Linked DNA regions of Homo sapiens: regions 1 and 3 are each linked to region 2. Evidence: promoter capture Hi-C in 16 types of primary human blood cells and fetal thymus (Javierre and others, 2016). All regions are on one chromosome and are shown on one strand. Each heading gives the region's core, a stretch centred on a gene start or on the middle of the fragment in contact. The rest is flanking DNA. Distances are from core to core; before and after follow the strand shown.

Region 1 (4,087 bases), core at 1,170-3,669, 2.2 Mb before region 2:
GATTTAAACAATTATCAAATTCATGTTTACGAATTTCATGAAAACCAGAATCTTCTACAAGGTTTATAATTTTATTTCACAATCAGTGCACAGTATTTGATACTGTCTTCTGATACTAAACATCAAAGAGATTGATTCATTTAAAAAAAATAAAATAGGTAAGAAGCTAGTGTTAAGCAGAAGGGACATCTGAGAGGGAACTAATTTTTTAAGTGGTCAGCTCATTCGTGAGTATTTTCATGTTAAGATGAGTTTTACTTCCTTAGGCAATCTCTAAACTTCAAGAATTAAGATAATAAACACTCTTTACACTCACCCCTATTATGATTTCCTAACATAATAGCCTCTAAACTATGGCAGGAACTTGACTCATAATTCCAGTAGTGGGCTCAAATAAGAATTACTTTCCTAAAGTTGAATGTTTGCTATTCTAACATCAAAATCCCAGTTTCAACTCTATAAATTCCCAAACACTGGAATTCTTTACAGCCTCGTTCTAGGCCGGCTTCTCCTCTGAACACACCCTTCTTAAGTGGTCTCATCTGTCCTCATGCTTTAAAATACCAGCTATAAATAAAGGTACTAACTTCCAAATACGTATTTTCAGTGCAGATCTTTCCTCTCATCTCCACTTGGCATCTCTCCTGTGTCTCAGTAGTTATCTCACACTAGCAGTCCAAGACCAAACACTTGTTCCCAAATTCCCGTCTCACCTCTACAAAAAAAGATTGTTTTCTGCCCCAAGTTTTCCTCAGCTCAATAATGGACCCTACCTAGTTGCTCAAACCAAAAGCCTAGGCATTTCTCCTTTCTCTCACATTCCTTCAAACACCACCAGAGTATTTACTGAAGCTGCCCATTCTCCTTCATTTTCACCAAACCAACCTTCCCTTCCCGTCTACTGCAATCAGCTATTTTCCATCATTCTTACCTCCCTCTCTTACACCATTCTTCATAGAACAGCCTATTGTATTTTTTAAGAGACTGTGTTCCTCCTCCACTTCTGTTCAATGGCTTCATATTCACTTAAATTAAAATTCAAACGTTTACCACGGCTTTCAATGACCTGAATGATGTGCCTGCTGCCCTCCTTTCCAATCTCACTTCAGGACTCCTACCCTCTGGCTATTAGGAGGCTGCAGCTGACTTCACTGTATCTTCCTACCTCAGTGCCTTCGCACTTGCTGGAAATGCTCTTCCTCTTGCTTTTTTCCCAGGGCTGGGTTCTTCTCATCCATCAGATCTTAGCTTCCACAAAGACCATTCCTAACAACCCTCTCTGAAATTTCGTCCTATGAATCTCTCCACAGCACTCGTTTATTTTCTTCAAAATAATCCGCAAACATTAAAAAAATAATAAATTTAAAAAAAAAGAACGTATTGTCTGTGTTCCTCCATAAAACAGAAGTTCTATCACGGACCTGGTCCGTCTCGTTTACCATTCCATCTTCCATCTCCCGACCTATAGATATCTGCATGTATCTTGCATAAATAAACATACACACCTACATAAATAAACATACACACCTAATTATATAACCAAGTAGATATCTGATGAGTGAGGACAACTCAATACTCAAGAAAAAGCCTTTTTTTCTCTATTTGTGATACGGTCGCTATAAATGTATGGGGCACATAACTCCAAGAGCACTCATTCAATATCCAAGAACCACAAAGAAGCAAAAGCCAGAAAATACATAACAAAGGGTGGAGCCACTCTTACTTGGAGAAAAGTATGAGAATGCCTTGATTTTAAACTCCTCTTTGTAAATACCCTCAAATGATGAGTAAGGACCTCAGCCGAAGCGCGGGGCATGCTTTTGGTTTAGGTAGAAAAACTGCTCCGAGTTTGATTCCAAAAACTCTATCAGACTCCCTTCTTTCACCCCTCTAGTCCATAAAGGATCGGAGAGACGACAGGGGGTGACCACTGCAGCACCCGCCCAAAGCTGACTGAGACAGCAGGAAGTCTCCAACCCATTCTCGCCCGTCCACTCCCAGCGTAAAGAGGATTCCGCGACTCGGAGACCGCAATCTACCCGCCAGTCTCCATAACGTAGGCCAGAGCAGCTGGGCTAAATAAAACAGAGCCGGGGCTCTCCCTTCCCGAAGGCCTACATCGCCCACTGGTCCGGGCTCGGAGCTCAGCAGAACCAGAGTAGGAGCGGTTGTTGCCGGCACGGAGGAGGTAGGTACCACACCAGACGGTAGGCCAGGAAACCGCAGGCCCCTGCCGGGCACAGGAAGGCATCTGTGAGATTTCTTCTCACTGCCACACCCTAGTGTTGTGGGGCGAGCATAATCCCTTTTGCCTGCTGTGCGACCAGCCCCAGGCCGGCCAAGGGGGCTTGGAACCGGGACCCCCACTGCCTCCGCCTCCTTACCAGTGTGATCCATGATTCGGCTCGCAGAGCACAGTGGGAGCGGAAGTCAACCGCGCCGGAGTCGCAGCGAGCGCGTGCGCACTGCCTTCCGGAGGCCGGGAGGCGGAAGTCCAAGCAGGTTGTCCCAATTTTGGCCTGCAAAGACTTCCTTCTCTCGCCTCTACTATCCAACTCCTGTGAGGGACTCAGGCATAGTTCGGGCGGAGGCAGAAAGAGCGAGCGCGCGAAGAACTTCGGTATTGAGGTTGCTAAGGCTTCTCCTCATGTGCTTCAAGAGAAAGTAGCCTTTAACTGTGGAAAGGACACCAGGGGGACCGGGGAAGGGGAGAGCAGTGGTAAAAATGAGCCAGAAGCAGATAAGGCGACTGCCCGCCCCGCGGAGAGCTGCCTTCTGGGACTTGTAGTGCGCGGGGCCCCCGGAGCCGGCTGGCTGCGCAGGCTCGGCCGTTGCGCTGGCCCCACCCCGGCGGGCGGAGTAACGGTTTGGAATCCCCCGGGGTCAGCGAGCGCTTGTTTCCTCCGCCTGGTGTAGCAAAAGTGTAAACACGCGCGCTCCGGAAGGCGCCCTCCAGTGGGAGGTTGCTCAGGGGATGGCGGAGCTGTGAAACTCGGAGCTAGAAGGAAAGTCTCAACGCTTGTCTAAATTTTGCTTTGTCGTGACGAGCTACCTAGACCCACGCAGAGCTAACTTGGTATATGCCCCGGTTCCCATCTCTTAAGTCTCTTTACAGTTGAAACACGTTTATAATGCTTGACTGCCACTCACTTTCTAGGGAGAGCGCTTGTGACGCTACGAACCTCTCGAACACCTGACGACTGGGCGCCAGGGCCGGATGGAGGGTGGAGAGCCAGTGCGGCGCAGCTGCCTCCTCTTAACGGGGACACCTTGCAGGAATGTGCGGAGTGGAGCTAACGGGAGCGGATAGAAACCGAGGGAGGGGAAGAGAGCGCGAAGGCTTGGCCGGAAGGAGAGGTTAAAAAGGAAAGGCCTAAAATGAGGAAGAGAGTTACCACAACAAGCAGTACCTAGTTCCAGTTCTTGGTCCCAGGAGTTTGTGGTTGTTGCTGCTTTCATCTTCCTCAGCCAACACAAAAGGAAAGTGCCAAGGGGCGATTCCTAGGACCTTCAGTGCAGTCTCCACCTTGCGGACTTGGCTCATTTGTGTCCACTCCTTTCTCCAGCCTTTTACACTTGATGCTCTTGGATGAATAGAAAGGAGCACAATTAATGGAAAACACAAGCTTGGGAGTCAAGGGATTTGGGTTCTATTCTTGTCCTCCCTTGGTGACGACATCATTACCTTGGGTTATTCAAGCTTTCAGTGCCAGAGTTCCTATATCAATAAAAGATTATTACATTGACCTCTTAGAGAAATGTTTTCATGGTACTGAATTGCAAATAAAGTATGTGTAGCGATGTGTTATATCTTTGTAGTTGTACGGTATTATTTGTGAATCATGCTGTGATGATCAGTGCGATTTAAGTGCACCATGTTATTTGGTGATTATTTTCCTGAGATCTTGTAAAAGATTTTTCTGCTCTATATATGCAGCTTTATAAACAAGTTTTTAGGTACATTCACAACTAAGGACATTTGTGAATCAAAATTACCCCTGCTTTTTTTAAATGTAAAGTTCTGTATTGCTAGGTGGTTTTCAAGATGCTTTCAGTTTCTGGGATTATTGTTTTGGGCATTGGGGCT
Region 2 (4,231 bases), core at 1,056-3,555:
TTTTAAATCTTAAATAAAACAAGTGATTTGTGTGGTGTATCTGCAGATAAATGGAGGCAGGAAATGTTTTGTGAATGCTAAAGTTGCTGTATCTTAGGGAGGAAATTCTACCTTCATTTTTTAAAAAAAATTACACCCACTGAGCACAGTGGCTCATGCCTATAATCCCAGCACTTTGGAAGGCCGAGGACGGTGGATTGCCTGAGGTCAGGAGTTCAAGACCAGCCTAACCAAAATGGTGAAACCCTGCCTCTACTAAAAATACAAAAATTAGCCGGGTGTTTGGCGGGCACCAGTAATCCCAGCTACTGAGGAGGCCGAGGCAGGGGAATTACTTGAACTCAGAGGCGGAGCTTGCAGTAAGGCGAGATCGCGCCACTGCACTCCAGCCTGAGAGACAGAGTGAGACTAAGTCTCAAAAAAAAAAAAAATTACACCCTTGATGTGTAACCATTCAAATGTGGCATAGTACATTCTTAGTGAAATGACATTCTTCAAAATGACACACCGGTGGTTTGGGAGGTTTTTATGTGTCTCCTTTTCTATTTTTTGTAAAGAGCACTCCTAACTGCAAAGCAGTTTGAGCTGTGGAAAGAGGAACAAGGTCAAAGTCCTTGATATGATAGTCTACATCTATTATTTTATTAAAATGACAGCTCAGTAGGCATCAGACTACTTTCCAGGCATCTGAATGAGGCAAAGGTGGAAAATGGAAAGGGAAGGGTTTAACTGAGAGATACAAGGCACTCTGAAATCCTTCAAGAAAAAGGAGCTGAGATGTGGCAGTTATGACAGTCATGTGCTATGGACTGCTCAGAGCCTTCTTTCTGAGGCAGATTCTATCAGCCGCTAATGTTAAGGGCAAATCTTACTCCTAAGGGCCATGTGCTAATGTGGGCACCGTTTTTCTTACTGCTACACATTCCCAACTGTTTGCCACAGTCAAAAGAACCAAAAATCCCAATAGCAGAGCTATCACATGCTTTTCCCCTTCCTCTCCCAAAAAATGTCACTTCAAAGGTCCCTAAAGAGCCCTTGATTTGCAATAACCTGCCATCAAAGTAAAATGGCAAAAGTCCACAACCCTGACATATACTCCCGTACTAGGGAGGAAATGGTGGTACTGACCTTTTCCCCCTTTCCTGTCCAGTCCAAGATCCAGAACCCAAGTTATCCGTTGTGCTCTTGCCAGAGCAATTTTAAATTGCCAATTTACTGAAGGTGAACTAAACAACTGTCATTTGCCTCCTTTGAACCCAATTAGGGTGGTGGTCGTCTGTCCTAGATCATGGGCCCCTCCAAATTCCTGATGCTTAGTAAGTTGATGTTTCATTAAAATGACAGGCAGGCCCCAATTATTCTGAGTACTGTATGATAGGCAGACTTCCAGCGAAAACACTCTAGTCCCTGTACTAGGTATGGATCGGGAAGTGCTCTTCTCCAAAGCATCCCATATTTTACAATTTTAGAAAGACAAAAATATGTGTATCATGGTCATCAGTATTACCATATAAGCATATTGTGCAGAAAACGGTACTGCATCTAAAAGATAGGCAAAGAACCTTTCTATATTGCAGACCCTGGAAGGCTGAGTTTGGGCGGGAAGAAAAAGCTAAGGTGTTTGGAGCTGGCTTACTTTTCTCCTCGAGGTTCTTCCTTTCGTCACCACTTTCAGAGCAGCACTAGAAGAAGAACAGATGTGACAAGCACATTAAGATTAAAGTCGTGGATGGAAAGCATACGGGGCTCCCAAAGGGCACCCACTGGAGGCAAGAGAGGTTCCAGACGCTCTCCCACTTTCTGAGCGACCAGGGCCGTCCGAATCAGGTACCTCAAAGTGCCACTGTCCTGGTGCCACCGCCACCTTCCCAGGAGGTGTGTGTCACCTCCGCAGGACCTGGAGTTACCTTGCCTGCTCACTAGAGCCACCTCCCTAGAGAAATCTGTCATCTCACCAGGGCCGCCAAAGCCACTTCACGGGGACTACCGCCTCCTCTAGGAGGTCTTACAAGGGCCTCTAATCTAAGCCGCAGGAAGCACCTTCACAAGCTTACAGGGCCACCGCACCGGGACTATCTCCCCCGGGAGGTCTGTGCCACCTCAATGGGCCACCAATGTCCCCTCCCAGGGACGCCAGGGCCGTCTCACCGGGGCTGCAGGAGAGGCGCCGATCTCGCCGGCTGGTAGCATCTCGCCTCCGCGCGAGTCCTCGGCTCCATTCGCAGCCAGCGTGGCCTGTGGAGTCTGGCTAAGGCCAGCGACACACTCACTACCCAGCCTCGGAGGCCGTAGGACTGAGTGCCACAGCGACTTCCTCTCGATGTCTCACTGGTTTCTTCCTCTCAGCCCAGAGAGGCCCTGCCCGTGCAGCCGCCGGCCGTGCTCTGTTCCTCCCCCTCCTGACCGGAGGTCGGAACGGCCACTCAGGAAGCGGGCACCCTCCCCTATGGAGCTCCAGAGAAGGGATTCGCTCACTCCACCGCGGTAAAAGTCCCCTCCACTTTATTGAAGCTCTTAATGATGGAACTTTAAGATATCCCTCTCCCAACGCCTTAAATTCAATATGAATAATTTAAATTTATATTTTAGGCAATATCCAGATGTTCTGAGAGTGTGGGGGGCTTGTTGACTAGGAGCTTCGGTGCAGGGTTATTTGGTTCGAATATTTAGTTGGGGGTTTCCAATGAATGTCAGTATCTTTAGATATTTCTTTTAACGTTGGTCAGAGTCCCTAGAGATGAGCTTCTGATTTCCTGCCTAGAGGGTGTAGAGGTGGTTATAAGCGTTCTGGGAGCTGAATGAAGAGAACAGAGCATCTAACATGTGTTTCGCCCAAAACCCTGTCTTTTACCAGGGAGGAGGAAAGGGAGCTACCTAGCAGCAAGGGTTGTGTAGAGGACCTGTGGACTTGACAGCCTCTTAAACAAACTAACACGGAAGGAGTACCATAGAGACCATAACAAACAAGGGGGGGGGAAAGCAACCCTCAGAGGAAAAAGAAACCACACGGTGAGAAGAAAAATCAAATACATGTGCACAGAGATATATAATCGAGCTACAAATTACTATTGCAAGCATAAAACAAGGATGGCTGGGCGCTGTGGCTCACGCCTGTAATCCCAGCACTTTGGGAGGCCGAGGCAGGCAGATTACGAGGTCAGGAGATCGAGACCATCCTGGCTAACATGGTGAAACCCCGTCTCTACTAAAAATACAAAAAATTAGCCAGGCGTGGTGGTGGGCGCCTGTAGTCCCAGCTACTCAGGAGGCTGAGGCAGGAGAATGGCGTGAACCCGGGAGGTGGAGCGTGCAGTGAGCAGAGACCGCACCACTGCACTCTAGCCTGGACGACAGAGCAAGACTCCGTCTCATTTAAAAAAAAAAAAAAAAACAAGGATACTATTTTTTAAATTACCTATTATGGGAACATAATCGTATATATTTATAGTGTACATGTGTGTTTGTTTTTTTTTTGCTCAGGCTGGGGTGCAATGGCGTTATCTCTGCTCGCAGCAACCTCCGCCTCCCAGGTTCAAGCGATTCGCCTGCCTCAGCCTCCCAAGTAGCTGGGATTACAGGCATGCACCACCACGCCCGTCTAATTTTGTATTTTTAGTAGAGACGATGTTTCTCCATGTTAGTCAGGCTGGTCTCGAACTCCCGGCCTCGGGTGAACTGCCCGCCTTGGCGTACCAAAGTGCTGGGATTACAGGTGTGAGCCACTGCGCCCGGCCTTTTTTTCTGGGGCGGGGCGGGGGACGGGTAAAGAAATTTTAATGAGGATTCAAGGTTTGTAGGGAAGACACAGAGGACCGGCGCTCAGCCCCAGCCTCCTCACGTGTACATGGCTCCATGGAGGTTCTCCAGTCGGTTCTGCTGCTGCTGCTGTTTTCGAGCCTTATCTCGTCTGTGTTCCTCATAAGTGTAGTCATCAGTGGGCAGCTCATGGCGGCACAAGGGACAGGAATTTGTCTTGCTTAGCCAGGGCAGAATGCAACTGGAATGAAAAAGGTGTTGGGAAGCATCTCAATGGCAGTCTCCTCCTCAGATTCCAAAAGATACACGGGGCACTTGAGCTCAGCCTTGAGAGCCTCTGATGACTGTCCTGGAGAGGTTCTCAACCACAATCTTGGCAGCCGGTGGAGGCAGGTGGTGGTCCCAATCTACTACCAACCCCAAGTCTTCAAAGTCCATCCTATTCAAAAGTGACCTTACGAGCTCCAGCACCATG
Region 3 (4,657 bases), core at 672-3,171, 2.0 Mb before region 2:
AGAATAAATCAGTAGGTTTCAGGGGACTGGGCTCACACCTGTAAACTCAGCATTTTGGGAGGCCAAGGTGGGAGGCTTGCTTAAGGCCAGGAGTTTGAGACCAGCTTGGGCAATATAGTGAGACCCCCATCTCTAAAAAAATTATAAAAATCAGCTGGGCGTGGTAGCAAGCGACTGTGATCCCAACTACTCCAGAAGCTTGGGCAGGAGGATCCCTTGAGCCCAGGAGGTTGAGGCTGCAGTGAGCCACGATCCTGCCACTGCACTCCAGCCTGGGTAACAGAGCTAGACCCCAACTCAACAAAACAAAACAATCAGTAGCTTTCTACCTTAGTTGTACACTACAATGACCCGAGGAGCTTTTAAGAATTAGCATGCCCAAGCCATACCCTAGACCAATTAAATCCAAACGTCTGGGCTCAGGATGCAGGCATCAGTGTTTTTATTAAAGCTCTTCAGGTGATTTCAATGTGCAGCTAAGCTTGGAATTACTGGAATAAGTAAATCCAAAGATTCCAAAGCACCTGGTACAATTGTTTGTTTAAATGGGTTCCTACCTTACCTATTAACTCCTTTTAGAATATGGATTGAGTCTTATGTTTGTAAACTCATGAGAGCATGCAGAGTAGAGGGGTCAAAACTTTCGCTGTATGAATGAATATTACTCACTCTTCTAAAATCTTCCACTGGGGGGAATAAAGCCAAGGAAGGAAAAACAATTCCTAATTCACAAGTAATGAATGAATCACCCCTATTCCCATCATGACTAAGATCTTACATACTAGGGAAAATCCTCTGAGACAAAGAGAGCATAATGCAGTGTAGCATAAGACTTGCTTACCTGAGGTGTTATGAGTATGAAATGCATTGAGTTATAAAATACTTAGAACAGCGATAAGCACAGGATAAGTAATAGCACCTTTTTGAAACAGAATGTAGAAAACCACGTAGCTCTGGAACTGGATAAAATTGGTTTCCTGGATACATACCTACTGTACAAAATGAAAAAGTCATCTTCCAGCTTCTTTTTGCGAAGAAGCTTAAGACTGTCTTGCATACTTGTGGTTGCCTGACCCTGTTAATTTATCAGTATTTATCTTAGAAGAAAGAAATCTAGGTCAAAAACGCGAACGTATTAGTAAAGAAGATACAATGGGAACCAACCTGATGCTCTTACAGCGTCAATACTGTTAGTTGAGATGTGGACCATCTATCAGTTTGTAATTAAGAAAAAGTCTGGCACGTGACTGAAACTGAGGAAGAAGTAGAAAAGGCAAAAGGTCAAAGGTCTCATGGGAAGGAAGGAGGGTAGAGACAGTGAGTTTTATTGGTCCTTTTATGGTTCAGACTTCCTTCTTCATCGACTCTCCCTAATTCTCTTCACTGTTCATCCCCAGCAACTTTTCTTCCCAAGCATTTCCTGCGGGCTTTTATTACCCCAGGAGTGCCAATCAAGGCGTGGAACAGATAAAGCTGTGTAGCAACTAACGCGTGACTCTTGTGAGTGTGGAGGGCAAACGAAGCTCCCTGAAACCTCCGCTCTGCTCTCCTGCCTTACGCCGCGCGGCCCCTGTTCTGAGGTTTAATACTTGCTTCACAGATAAGCGCTGCGGCCACGTTCCGGTGCCCACCTTCTCCTTGGCTAGGGCACGACGCCAGCCCAGGGGGCGCGGCCCTGAGCTGCTGCGAGAGACAGCTGAAAGCGCCGGCCCGACGGCCTTGGCTCCCTCGGTGCGCTGGGCGCAGAGCACTCGGACCCTGGGCGCCCACTGCTCGAGTACCTGCGCGGCTCCTAGCCAGGCTTAGCCCAGGCGCGGGCTGAGAGTCAGTTCGCCAGGTGGGCCTGGAGCCATGGGCTGGGTGGGCGGGCGGCGCCGGGATTCTGCGTCACCACCTGGGCGGAGCCGTTCTGCTGCTGACGACATCAACCCGGCACCTGCCAACATGGAAGGTGGCGGCGGCAGCGTCGCTGTAGCTGGCCTCGGAGCTCGAGGCTCTGGAGCGGCTGCAGCTACAGTCCGGGAACTTCTGCAGGACGGTAAGGAGACGGGGTCTGACCAGGTCGTGGGGTTGGGGGTCTGCGCTGCTCCGCACCTGGACAGCGAGGTGGACCCAACCCGTTGCTTTGCAGAAAGTTTTCCAGTCTGGACGTGACCACTCCCCTCCGCCCGGCCCCCTGGCTTGGGTACTGTTCTAGCCAACCTATTTACTCTGGGACTGGCTCCCTCTTTTCTGGAGTCTTGGGGACACTTGGTTTCTGTGTGTTCCTCATTTCAACTCGACCCCCCCCCCCCCCATGCCTCCAGCTTCCCTGAAGTTTCGGGAGCCCAAACCCTGTGGACCGCGTTGGCAGCCACCGGCTGCTGCCGCAGTTCTTGACGAAGGGGTGTAGCGTTCGAGCTCTTCAAAAGTGTAAGCTCTAGAACAGACGGCAGACGCATAATGAAATAGGGCCTTGTTTTAAAGTAGAGCTGGAAACGCTTACTCCTTTAACAAATGGACTGTACAGGTGACCCCTCTTACAGGCTGGTTTTTTTTTTCCTCCTTTATGAGGCAGTTATCTACAGTGACACGTGGGGGAGGGTTTGAGACATTTGTTCAGGTTGGGATTAACCATTTGTACAGAATCTAGCAGTCAGATTTTATTGCTAGTCAGTTTGGAGAGAAGTTGCCCAAAATAAGAAAAGTTAGATATAATATACTTGAAAAGCATATTCAGTTGTGTCAATCCAGTTACCATGTCCCGAATCTCTTATCCTTCAGAATAAAGTTCACATTTATAAGCATAAAAATAAAGCCCTTCTCACCTGTTCTTAATTTTTTCTCTAGTGGCCATCGCATTCTACCTTGTACTAAAATCATTTGTATACTTGTTTTAATCTCTTCTGTATTGCAAACTTTTTTTAATATCCCACAGTGTGAATAGCAGTATCTTGCATACAGTAGGTGCAGAATGTTTTTTAAATTCATCATCGCAGTTAGAAGCACATGCACACATTTGAAGACCGAAGTGGGTAATAAATGAAATAAAGTTCCAAATTATTGTTTATTTTCTCTGACTGTTAAATATTTTATTGTCATCCTGAATTACGTGCCTTTTCATGATAATTTATGTACTTTTGTCAAAAGCAATGATGTTTTCTGAACTATTTCATGTTGGAAACTCTAGGACCGGGTCTCTGTCTAAAACTTGGCTAAACTGAATTTAAACTTTAGATACAAGGCAGAGACCCTGATATATTTGCAGTTGCTCCTGATACACGTGCAATTTTTGCCCTCAAGTAGTTCACCATCTAGTAGAGGAAATAATCTTGTAGACTATAAAGGTAGGTGCTGTAATATAGTGATGTAAGATAGCAGTAGGATTGCATATAAAGTAGAGCATTAATACAGAGGAGAATGATAACTGGGGGTTGGAAACTGGTTAGGAAATGTCAGAAAAGGCTTTCTAGGTGGAGACGTTTTAAACTGTAGACAGGACTTCCCCAGGTGAACAGTGGAACATTGGATATATGTTTCAGTAGGATGTATTTCAGGAATTGTAATCAGTTCTTGGACGGTAAATACTCTTCAGTTCTGCCTTCTGTATTTTCCTCCTTGGTTCTCTGCCATTCTCCACAGTGATTGTTTAAATCTTCTTTACCCTTTTCAAACCTTTCGCTTCAAGCTCAACAAATGACTTTAAGCTTCCCTGGGGAGAAAAAGAGGATCCATCAGATGTGAACTTTCTCCATTTCTTGCCCATCAAACCTATGAATTTAACCTCAACGTATAACCATCTGTTGCACCTTTTTTCCCTTGCCTTTTCAATTGCAACGGAAGTGGAGCCTCTGCTCCTTTCTTTCTTTCTTTCTTTTTTTTTTTTGAGACGGAGTCTCGCGCTGTTGCCCAGGCTGGAGTGCAGTGGCGCAGTCTCGGCTCACTGCAAGCTCTGCCTCCGGGGTTCACGCCATTCTCCTGGCTCAGCCTCCTGAGAAGCTGGGACTACAAGCGCCCATCACTATGCCTAGCTAATTTTTTGTATTTTTAGTAGAGACGGGGTTTCACCGTGTTAGCCAGGATGGTCTCGATCTCCTGACCTCGTGATCTGCCTGCCTTGGCCTCCCAGAGTGCTGGGATTACAGGCGTGAGCCACCACGCCCGGCCGAGTCTCTGCTCCGTTCTAAGGATAGTGCCTCCTACTTTGCTCTGGATTTTTTCTTCCTGTTTCCTGGGGACTCAGTCACCCTCAATCTATGCCATTGAAGTAACTTTGCAAGGTTTTCAATGACTTTCTTGCACATACGACAAATGGACACTTTTTTGGTCCTTTAACTTGTAATAACATTTGATTCCTTTCTTGAAATACTTTCCTCATGCGGTTTATGGGTGCCGTGCTTTTTAAAAATTCTTAATTCTCTAGGTGCTCTTTTCCAGGTTCCTGTAGATACTTGTCAGTTCAGTTTGTTCTGAATTAAGCGGTCTCTGTTGCCCCTCCACCCCCAACATTCCTGAGGAATTAAGCATTTCCAGCAGAAACTTTGATTCACTATATCGGGGATTTGGCCAATGACAGAGTATCGGATTGATAGGCTTGGTGAGCACAGATGCATAGTATGAAAATTGGTGAGGTGTTTCTGATATGCCCTCTATGGGAATGAGGAAACTATAAAAGAGA

The links. The method cuts DNA at HindIII sites, captures the fragments that hold promoters and counts their contacts. A CHiCAGO score of 5 or more calls a contact.
Region 1: the fragment with the promoter of CBLL1 here is called in contact with the fragment with the promoter of RINT1 in region 2 in 1 of 17 cell types (non-activated CD4 T cells); the score reaches 6.5 in non-activated CD4 T cells.
Region 3: the fragment with the promoter of COG5 here is called in contact with the fragment with the promoter of RINT1 in region 2 in 1 of 17 cell types (activated CD4 T cells); the score reaches 7.0 in activated CD4 T cells.

Annotation. Positions count from the first base shown.
Region 1 is chr7:107,742,474-107,746,560 of GRCh38, reverse strand. It overlaps CBLL1 (Cbl proto-oncogene like 1), which reads right to left and starts at 2,419. Exons shown (of 6, transcript NM_024814.4): 1 at 2,385-2,419. The coding sequence starts at 2,397. CBLL1-AS1 (CBLL1 antisense RNA 1) reads left to right here and starts at 1,980. Exons shown (of 2, transcript NR_144537.1): 1 at 1,980-2,188; 2 at 3,158-3,808. RefSeq lists enhancers at 1,945-2,124, 2,475-2,694, 2,792-3,310, 3,311-3,830 and a silencer at 2,735-2,934. The HindIII fragment of the contact is 5,122 bases long and covers 1-3,628 here.
Region 2 is chr7:105,530,275-105,534,505 of GRCh38, reverse strand. It overlaps RINT1 (RAD50 interactor 1), which reads right to left and starts at 2,305. Exons shown (of 15, transcript NM_021930.6): 1 at 2,149-2,305; 2 at 1,637-1,682. The coding sequence starts at 2,190. It also overlaps the pseudogene LOC100131785. RefSeq lists enhancers at 1,533-2,109, 1,955-2,134, 2,225-2,524, 2,110-2,687, 2,975-3,024. The HindIII fragment of the contact is 4,822 bases long and covers 2,052-4,231 here.
Region 3 is chr7:107,561,184-107,565,840 of GRCh38, reverse strand. COG5 (component of oligomeric golgi complex 5) reads left to right here and starts at 1,921. Exons shown (of 22, transcript NM_006348.5): 1 at 1,921-2,038. The coding sequence starts at 1,945. It overlaps DUS4L-BCAP29 (DUS4L-BCAP29 readthrough), which reads right to left and starts at 1,870. Exons shown (of 13, transcript NR_163941.2): 1 at 1,632-1,870; 2 at 1,165-1,253. DUS4L (dihydrouridine synthase 4 like) reads right to left here and starts at 1,870. Exons shown (of 8, transcript NM_181581.3): 1 at 1,632-1,870; 2 at 1,165-1,253. RefSeq lists enhancers at 144-1,343, 1,874-1,993 and silencers at 1,694-1,793, 1,832-2,042. The HindIII fragment of the contact is 2,647 bases long and covers 1,042-3,688 here.